Regions from separate parts of the Homo sapiens genome. Here region 1 is linked to region 2. Evidence: promoter capture Hi-C in human tissues and cell types (Jung and others, 2019). All regions are on one chromosome and are shown on one strand. Each heading gives the region's core, a stretch centred on a gene start or on the middle of the fragment in contact. The rest is flanking DNA. Distances are from core to core; before and after follow the strand shown.

Region 1 (5,370 bases), core at 1,703-4,202, 130 kb after region 2:
TCTATTGGCCAAAACAAGTCACAGGCAGCCTGAATGCAAAAGGCAGGGGAATGTAGCACCTCCTGGTGAGGGGAGCTGCAGAGCCACATAGCAGGGAGCTGGGAGGAACTGGGGGCATTTTTGCAATCTCCCTATCATGCCCTCTACATTTCCACCCTGGCCTGAGGGCTTTACCCAGAAGGTCTCAGTCCAGCAGACAGTGACCAAACACCAACATTCAGTGCCTTGCCTTCCCTGCATCACTCTATTCCAAGCTCCCCCAGTCCAGTTGCCCTCTCCCTTCCAGCCTCGCCCTGCCACCACCTATTCCCATTCCTGCTCCACCTCAGTGAACTTCTGTGAGCTGCCACGGCAGGGATCTGTGGGAGTTGATAAATATGTGGCAATGTCTGGTGCTGGACCCAGCCAGGACAGGAAAGTCAATCTCTCCCTCCCACGGCCCACAGCCACAACCCACAGCAGTCAGGCAACCCCCAAGGGATTGCAGCTTCTTTGCCAGATGGACTGAGTATTTGCCTCAGGGGTGGGTGAAAGACCCCTGCTGATTCACCTGCTGAATGTGCTGTGGTACTGTCAGCCAGAGTGGGGACAGACACTACCTTGACCCACCCCAGGTGTGCACCTGTCCCCGACTCTTGCTGGTGTGCCAAGCAAGGTTGGGGAGTAGGCAGCCAAGAACCTGTCCCTGAGAAGCCAGAAGGCGAGACTGTGTGTGAGCCCAGGTGTCAGACTCCTAGCTCCATTATCCTATCAGACTTCACTTACAAAACACAGATGCAAAGGTCAAATGATTAAGAAGTTCAAAACAGCAGCTTCAGAACAGTGTCTTTTCTTTTTTTTTTTTTTTTTTTTTTTTTTTTTTGAGATGGAGTTTCCTTCTTGTCACCCAGACTGGAGTGCAATGGCACAATCTCAGCTCACTGTAACTTCTGACTCCCAGGTTCAAGCAATTCTCCTGTCTCAGCCTCCTGAGTAGCTGGGATTACAGGTGCCTGCTACCATGCTTGGCTAATTTTTGTATTTTTGGAAGAGATGAGGTTTCACTATGTTGGCCAGGCTGGTCTTGAACTCCTGACCTCACGTGATCTGCCAGCCTTGGCCTCCCAAAATGCTGAGATTACAAGTGTGAGCCACTGTGCCCAGCCCAGAGCAGTATCTTCTAAGCCATAGATTCAAGAAGCAGCTTGGCTTAGCTGGATGTTTCTCCCTTTGGGGATATTTTGGGGTTTGAGAAGAAGGAGGAGCTTTTTCCTCATATAGCTACTGTACCTAAAGATGGGGGGGGGGGGGATGGAAAGTGTTGTAGTATTTACCATTAATTGGTAAGTAATAAAATAATTTTTAAAACATTACTTCATATTAAACAATTTATATGTGTGTATTTAAATAAAGAGATAGATGAAATAAAATGCAAAATTTGCATGACCTTTTAGAAACAAATAATAAATATTTCTTTGCTTGTAATAAGCCACTTTAGACTGCGTCCCCAGATCTTTCAGGGAATATTTTCTATTTTCTCAGGGTTGAGGGCAACTCGTGTGGAAATGTTTGGCCTTAGTTCCAGTTCCTGCTCAGTCACTTCTTGGAAAAGACACTCCCCTCTCTGAACCTCACTGTTTTCATCTCTGGAATGAAATCTCTAAATTCCATTGCAGCTCACATTGTAAGATTGTACAGTAACTTTGCTTCATTTCTCTGGGTATCCTTCTTGTCTGCTACCATGCCTGGCACATGGCAAGTGCTCAATCCACCACTGTTGGGTAAAATTCAGATGAGATTTGGCTAATATGTCTGTAGAATAAATCCCTAACAGTGAAATTGCTAGATCAAAGGGCTTGTGCACTTTTAATGTTGAAAGATTTTGCCCAATTTTCTCCAACAAATGTTTTATGCATTGATATATTTTTCACACCTGTGTCAACACTGTGTGTTAACAAGGTTTTGATGTTTGATGGAATAATCAATGAGAAGGGGTATTTTGCCATAGGTTTTCATTTCTGCTATTTTGAGCTAGGCTGAGCATCTTTTCATTTGCTTAAGAGCCATTTGAGTTTGTGTTCTTAGAAAGCTGTCTCTTCAAGCCCTTAGCTCTTCTAGTGGGTCATTGTTTTTTATTTATTTTTAAACCTATTGTAGGCATTCTTTGTATTAAAGAAATCAGTCATTTATCAATCTGTTTGTTGCAAACACCTTCCCTAGTGTGTTATTTGTCTTGTCACTCTATTTTATTCTTGCACATTAAACTTTTTTTCTCATTTGAATTCATCTCTTTTATGGCTTCTGGGTCTTGTGTCTTATTTCAAAAGCCCTCTCTTATGACAAGATTGTTATTTTTAAATCTCTATTGTTATAGTACTTTTTATGTTTTTAAACTTTATATTTAAATGTTTCAGCTGTGTGGAATGGCTTTGATGTAAGGCGTGAGGTAGGGATCTGATGGCTTTTTTTCCAGATGGTTTCCTGTTATGCCAATACCATTTATTAAATACTCCATGTTTTCCCTTTGATAAGAAATACTACAAGAAAAAAACAAACAACCCCATTAAGAAGTGGGTAAAGGACATGAACAGACACTTCTCAAAAGAAGACATTCATGTAGCCAACAAACATGAAAAAACGCTCAGTATTACTGATCATTATAGAAATGCAAATCAAAACCACCATGAGATACCATCTCATACCAGTCAGAATGGTGATTATTAAAAAGTCAAGAAACAACAGATGCTGGCGAGGTTGTGGAGAAAAAGGAATGCTCTTACACTACTGGTGGGAGTGTAAATTAGTTCAAACATTGTGAAAAACAGCGTAGTTATTCCTCAAAGATCTAGAAGTATAAATACCATTTGACTCAGCAATCCCATTACTGGATATATACCCAAAGGAATATAAATCATTCTATTATAAAGATACATGCACACATATGTTCATTGCAGCACTATTCACAATAGCAAAGATGTGGAATCAACCCAAATACCCATCAATGTTAGACTGGATAAAGAGAATGTGGTACATATACACCCTGGAATACTATGGTATTCCATTAAAAAGCCTTAAAAAGGAATGAGATCATGTCATTTGCAGGGACATAGCTGGAGCTGGAAGCCATTATCCTCAGCAAACTAATGCAGGAAGAGAAAACCAAACACTGAATGTTCTCACTTATAAGTGGGAGCTGAATAATGAGAACACATGGACACATGGTGAAGAACATCACACACTGGGGCCTGTTGGAGGTGTGTGTGGCACGGGGAGAGCATCAGGAAGGCTAGTTAATGGATGCAGGGTGATGAGTTGATTTGTGCAGCAAACCACCATGCACACATTTACCCATATAACAAAGCTGCACATCCTGGACATGTACCTAGAACTTAAAATAAAATTGAAAGGAAAAAAAGAAAAAAAGAGAAAGAAATACTACCTTTATCATACATTACATTCTCATTTCTTACTGGATACATTTCTGTGCTCCATTTGATCAACTGGCCAGTCTTTCTACTCTTATATCACAATCACAACATTTTAATTACTGAACTTCAGTGATTTGTCATAATATATGGTAGAGCTATTTCTTCCTCATTGCTCTTTTTTTTTCCAGAATGTTGCTGGCTATTCTTGTGTATATTTGGTTTTCCAGATAAGCTTTATAATTGGCTTGTCTATTTAAAAAATTCTGTTGGCCTATTTATTGTGATCTTACTAAATGTATATATTAATTTAGGAAGATTTGATCTCTCTTAACATTTTAATCTTCAAATTGAAAAAAATCTATCATTTGCTACTTAGAAGAAAACACCAAGAAAAACATAACAGATAAAAAAATGATGAGCAAAATTTTTCAAGCAAATGCAAGGGAAACGAAAGCAAAAGTAGTAATATTACTTCATCTTATATTGATCAAAGTGATCATCCATAATGAATACAAACAGATATTAACTTTTATGCAATTACTAATACCATATATCTCTATATAAAGCAAAATTGGGAACATAAGGAATGAACAGAAATAATTGCTGGGGGAGACTTTTAGGAGCACTATTTGATTCCTCCATATACCAAGTAGACAACCCGTAAAATGTAGAATTAATCTTTAGTCATTTAAAAAATATGACCAAATTAACAGAAACACTTAATTTGTACCTTAATAATAAAAAACCTGTATTTTAAATATTCTTAGAAAATTTATAAAAATTGTTTATATAGCAGCTGTATTAGTCCATTCTCACACTGCTGTAAAGACACTACCTGAGACTGGTAATTTATGAAGAAAAAACGTCTAATTGGCTCACAGTTCCACATGGCTAGGAAGCCTCAGGAAACTTACAAACATGGCAGAAGGCAAAGGAGAAGCAAGTACCTTCTTCACAAGGCGGCAGGAGAGAGTGTGAACGAATGAGGAAGTGCCACACTTAAAACCATCAGCTCTCAGGAAAACTCACTCACTGTCATGAGAACAGCATGGGAGAAACCGCCTTCATGATCCAATCACCTCCCACCAGGTCCCTCCCTAGACATGGGGGGATTACAATTCAAGATGAGATTTGGGTGGGGACACAGAGCCAAATCTTATCAGCAGCCCACACATTTAAAAAGCTAAAATTTCTAAGTCTCTTTCTCTGAACACAGTTAGTAAAACTAAAGGTTAACTGAGTCCTCTAGAGAAACCAAAAATCCAGCTATGTCACAACAGAAAGCTCTTTGTAAAAACAAAAACAGGCAAACCTCTGACAAATCAAAAAATATCAGACAGAATATTAATATATCAAGATACAATTGAGAAATTAGATAAAACAATAGCTAAAGAAGTGATTTTAAAAAATTACATTATAAGGGATTGTTATGGGAATCTCTGTACTTATATGTTAAAATTTCAATAAAAGATACTTCTCTGGGACAATATAAATTACCAAATTGACTCAACGTTTAAGTTTAAAAAAAAACTAAATGGACTAATAATAATGAAAAAAAATTTTAAAGTTATAAAAACCTACCCCCTAAAGAAAGATTGAACCAACCATTAAGAGTATAAAAGTAAAAGTTAATAAGGCAATGTAGCATAAGCTACAAAATAGACAAATGATATAAAATGAAGACCCCAGAAATCAATCTCCTGCATTTAAAAAAGTATGGTATATTACAGAGTCAGGATTGCAAACCATCAAGGAAAGAATGGATTAGAACAACTGGTTATCCACATGAAAAATATATATCCTTATCTTATACCATAAACAATTATAATATGCTGTTTATGGATGAATTAAAGATATAAATGTGAAAAGCAAAACATTAAAACAGTTGGAAAAAAATTTAGGCAAGTTACTTGACAAACACAGAGTAGGAAAATCTTCCTAAATAAGACCAAAAAGCACAAAG
Region 2 (5,058 bases), core at 928-3,427:
TTCAAGACCAGCTTGGGCAACATAGCAAGACCCCAACTCTACTAAAAATAATAATAATTTAAAAAAACAGCCGAGCGTGGTGGCAGGCACCTATACTTGGGAGGCTGAGGTGGGAGAATCGCTTGAGTCCAGGAGTTCAAGGCTGCAGTGAGCCATGATGGTACCACTGCACTCCAGCCTGAGTGACAGTGAGACCCTGTCTCAAAAACAAACAAAAACCAAAAAAAAAGCAGACAGAAAGAAACTCTAAAAATAAATAAATAAGCTACTCCTCTCATTCATCCGTTAACAAACCTCTCATAATGACCCCTACCGTTTACTGACTTCTTGCCATGTAGCAGGCACTGAGCTAGACTTTTCTTGCAAAATTTCATTTACATCACGCCATAATCCCATGAGATGAATACTATCATTAGTTTCACTCTACAGATGAGGAAACTGAAACTCAGAAAAGTTCAATAATTTGTCCAAGGGCACAAAGTAAGTAGGAAAGCCAAGACTTAAGCTGAGGGCTAATTCTAAACTCCCTGCACATAACCATGGCACAACATTCCAGTTGGAAGTGGTAAAAGGTCCCTAGCAGGATGGAGACAGGGCAAGAAAAATGCCTTGAACCTAAATTAGGAGTGTGACCTAAAGCCTAGAAGGAAGGAATGAAAAATATGGATTACAGAAGGTAAGTTTAGGTTTAAATGAACCAGTAATCGCCACGTCAACTGCTTCCCATGGGGCTTGGAGCCCGGGTCCCAAGCAGAAGCCTCATCTCTCTGAGGCCCTATTTAAAGATTCTGAGCATGGTACAGTATCTCCAAGGACCCCACATGATTTCTAACAAGCAAGAAAGGTGTCACCATCTACTGTAACTAAACATCCTAGCACATTGAGTTTTTCAGTTAGTCAAGGCTTCACAGAGCTTATTTTTTAACTCTCTAAGCTTTCCTGGTGCCGCTGATAAGATTTCCCAGCCCTGTTAAAACGAGATGAGATCCAGCCAGCTGTCGAGAAATGTACAATGAGATTATACTGAGAAGGAACCACGAGAGACAAAGGCCCCTAAGAGGAGCTGGTCTGCTGTCTGCTTTTGTGGCAGCAATCGGAGTGGGCTCTGGTTCTTGGGTGGGGGCAGGAAGCAGGGAAGGGGCAACCACCATTTGCCTTTTGCCCTCCTGTGGTCTTCCTCAGTGCCTTGTGCAAGAGGTGTTGAGGGGCAGGGAACAGAAGAGTCTCATCTTTCATGGTGAGAAGGGCTGCTGATTTAGAACAGTTGTGTGTTGGTAACAAAGAGGACAAAAGATGCTCTTGGGTCTACCCCGTTCCCTGGTGCCTGCCTCTGAGGATGTGATGTCCCCTGGTGCCATGCCTCAGCTCTTGTCCCAGCCCCTGCTCCTCCCGTCTCGCTGGTGTTGGAGTCACTGTAGGGTGCTCGACGTGCCCACCATGTTCCTGGATGGGTGCTCTGGGTCTCGGGTACCCAGGCTGGGCATGTCACCTTCCAGACAGGTGCCTGAGGGTTTAGGTGTCCTCTCTGCTGTGCCCAGGTCACAGAGGCAGTGATGCTCCTGGGGCAGGTGCACGTTGGTCTGCACCCACGTGACCAGAGAGAGCAGGACCCCAGGCCAGGCCGGTCAAACGATTGACTGTTCCCAGTCTGTGCCCAGGTGGGCCGCCTCCCTCTCACGCGGGCAGAGGTGGCTCTCGGCGCCCCTCACCTGCCCGGGCCTTGGGGGCGCTGCTGGCACTCGGGTCCCCCAGCTTCTCCCGCCTCTCGCCGCCAGGCCGAGCCCGGGCACCGGCAGCCGCGGCGCGCTCGGGGCTCTGCAAAGGCCGCCCGGGCCTGTCCCCGCCGCGGGCCGGGCACGGAGCCCGCAGGCCTCGGCGCGGCCCGGCTCCTCCCGTCCGCCCGCCCCTCGGCCGGGGGCCCGCGCCCGCCCGCCCGCCCTCCCGGCTGCAGGGCCGGCTCCGCCGAGCCTCCGCGGCGCCCGGGCCTCACTTAACTGTTCCCCGCTGGGGCGGCGGCGGCGGTGGCTGCGGCGGCGGCGGGTCCCGGCTCCGTCTCACGCAGAAGCAGCTTCTCATCGCCCGGGCGGCGCGGGAGGGGCCGGGCCCGGGGCCCAGGCGGCAGGAGCCGGCGCCGCAGCTCGAGCGCGAGCCTCACCGAGAGCGGCGGCGGCGGCGGCGGCGGCGGAGGGGCGGGGCGCGGCCTGGCGGCGGCGGCGACAACGGCAGTGGCGGCGGCGGCTCCCTCCGCGGGCCGCGGCGGCGGGCCGGGCTCCGGGCCTCCCGGCGCTGGCGCTGGTTCAGGATCGGGGGAGGCGCCCGGCGCCCGAGGCTGGCTCGGGCGGGAGGAGGGAGAGGGAGCCCTGGCGTCCCGAGCCCGCGCCGCCGCCCCGGCCGGCACCCCGCCTCCCCAGCCTCCCCCTCGACCCAGCCCGTCAGCCGCAGGCAGGGCCCCGGTGCGCCCACCCGGGCCTCCCCGAGCCCGCCGGCGACCCCAGTCCAGCCTCAGGCCCCCGGGAGCCCACGGCCTCTAGAGCCTGGGGCATCGATGGTCCCCGCCCCCAGGCTGGTCTTTTCCAGGGACCCTCAGCCCACTTAGCTCTCGTAGGCCTCGCTGTACGCAAGACCGGTCTTCCGCTCGGCTGCAGATCCCTGGAAGCCCCCAGGCCCTCAGGCTAGAAGTTGGACCCTTCTAAGGACTCTCCGCCCACCCAGCCATTCTAGGCTTCACTGAACCCTAGAATCCTTCAGCTCATCTTCCCCCACCCCCCAGCTCACCTAAGGTGAGCTCAGCCAGTCGTCTCAAACTAACCCCAATTGCCTAGCAATTCTCTTATATTAGTTAGATGATTTATCCCCAGAAGCCTAGAATCAGGTTTATGGGGCCAGCCTCAGGCAAGCATCTAGAAGAAGTTTTTAGCAGGAGTCCTACCCTGCAGTACTTGGGGAAGGCATAAGCCAAGGATAAAATGGAGCTGGATGGTTGGGGGAGGGTCCAGAGCTTGACCCTCAGCTAGAGTGGCTGGTAGGAAAGGCGGACTCTGCGCCTTAACCAACCATGCCCCCCACACCGCCCAGCCAGGCACCCCAGGCAGAGGCCAGCGTGTGCAAGATTTGAAAGGTTTCCTGCCAGGAGGCTGGAGCATTCGTTAGGACTTGAGGACCATGCAGGAGTGATCAGCATTGATTTGCTAATGCATTGAGTCTCATTTTCACACATTCTAGGCTTTTCCATAATAGCTGTTTGATCCTAAAGAGAAGGGTGCCAAGCAGAATGGGCTGTCGGGGGAAACATCCTGTAGGGAAGCCATGCACGTGTGCATTCCCAGTGTCTTCACTACTCAGAAATGCCATGGGTTCAGATGGCTTTACAGCAAGCCTTATCCTCCCATCAGGGCACAGATCATCCCTATGTTACTTAAACTGTTACACAGGAAAAAATAAACAAAAGAAACAAAAATTTTTATTTCATTTCCCAAGTTTAGCATAACCCTGATACCAAAATCCAACAGACAATACCAAAAAGAACTGCAGATGACTAACCTAGAACACGAGTCCCCAGAGAATTTAATATTTATTTTTTGAAAATGGGCTTCTGTGGGCAACTTGAGAAAGTGCTGCATGCCGTTTATAGTGTACCTTTTGGAGAATCACGATAAGTATTCGTATATTAAGGAAGGCCTCTGTGAAGTCCAGGAGTAAAGAAACCTGTTTGGTTTGTTTAACCTGGCATTTCCCAAACTCATCTGAGCCAGGACCACCTTCTAAAGCTCACTGATAAATCCTCAATATGTGAATCTGCACTATATATTTAAGTATATAATAGTCGTAAAACTATTAAATACAATTTTAGCCATTTGAATCCAGTTTACTATTAAAGCAACTGAAAACCCACCATGATCAAGCAAGATTTATTCCAGAGGCGCAAGAAAAATCCAACATTAGGGAATTTGTAAATGCATTGCATTGTTAAAGGAAAACAAATTACAGGATATTATCAATGGGATAGATGCTTTAAAAGTATTTTATAAACTTCAAAACTAATGACCCATAAATTTCTAAAAACTCTTAGTAAACTATTATAGGAAGAAAGTTTAAACTTTTAACATGACAAAGTTTATCAGAAGCCATCAACAAACATATTTAATGGTGAAACACTAAAGGTATTCTCATGTAAGTCAGTCAAAAGGATGCCTGCTATAATGGCTATAGAATAAAGCCAATGCAATAAGATAAGAAAAATAAATAAGAAATATAAATATTAGAAGGGAAGAGATAAAATTGTCATTATTTGCTTATGATTTAAGTGTTTCCCAAAAAGTAAAAATAAAAAAAATCAACTAAAAATCATAGAGACTTTGGTAAGGTGGTCAGTTATAAGATAAACACCAAAATCAATGGTTTTCCTAAATGTTAAGGGAGAAGCCTTCTCCTTCCTTCTTCTTCTTCTTCTTCTTCTTCTTATTATTATTATTATTATTATTATTATTATTCTTTTTTTTCTTCCTTACCCTGTCTTATGGTATTGAAGGGAGAAGCCTTCTTTTCCATATAGAGGGACTTCCATTAGAATAAGACTTCTGGCCTCTCTCCACTCTAAGGGAAGATGAGTGAGTTTGGAAAAAGTGGACAAGAATAGATGCTTCTGAGTTCTCTTTTTGGATTTGGCTGACTGCAGAGAGCAAATATTTCCATGCGCTCTCACTGTGGGTTAAGTGAACCTGTTTCAGGGACAGAGTGATACTATTCTCCTGCACCACCCGCCACTACACAAATAAATCTACTCAATTCAGGGAGAAATATAGCAAGCCCACTTAGCTACAGAGCAAAAGCTACTTTTTCCAGTCAGCTTCATTAAAAATTAAGGTAGTATTTTTGTCTTATGTCTCTTTCCTGTGTCTATGCCCCAGTTTGTTCCAAACTTAGAATAGGGAGGGAGGTATTACTTACAGAGACCTCCAAATACAACACTAAATACCAGTTATTTCCATTTAGGAAGTATGATGGAAAAAAAGCATATTCACATTAGCAATGAATACTATAAGGCATATACTAGGCATA

What was found. Contacts are between HindIII fragments. The study calls those that stand out against the background at their distance.
Region 1: a fragment that was not itself captured here is called in contact with the fragment with the promoter of MVB12B in region 2 in 3 of the 25 tissues and cell types used here (IMR-90 fibroblasts, hippocampus and mesendoderm cells).

The regions. Positions count from the first base shown.
Region 1 is chr9:126,198,086-126,203,455 of GRCh38, reverse strand. No RefSeq gene overlaps it. Among named protein-coding and RNA genes, the nearest start is that of MVB12B, 130 kb to the left of the region's middle. The HindIII fragment of the contact is 6,735 bases long and covers 1-5,370 here.
Region 2 is chr9:126,323,948-126,329,005 of GRCh38, reverse strand. It overlaps MVB12B (multivesicular body subunit 12B), which reads right to left and starts at 2,177. Exons shown (of 10, transcript NM_033446.3): 1 at 1,996-2,177. The coding sequence starts at 2,076. RefSeq lists an enhancer at 960-1,611 and a silencer at 2,053-2,192. The HindIII fragment of the contact is 8,205 bases long and covers 1-5,058 here.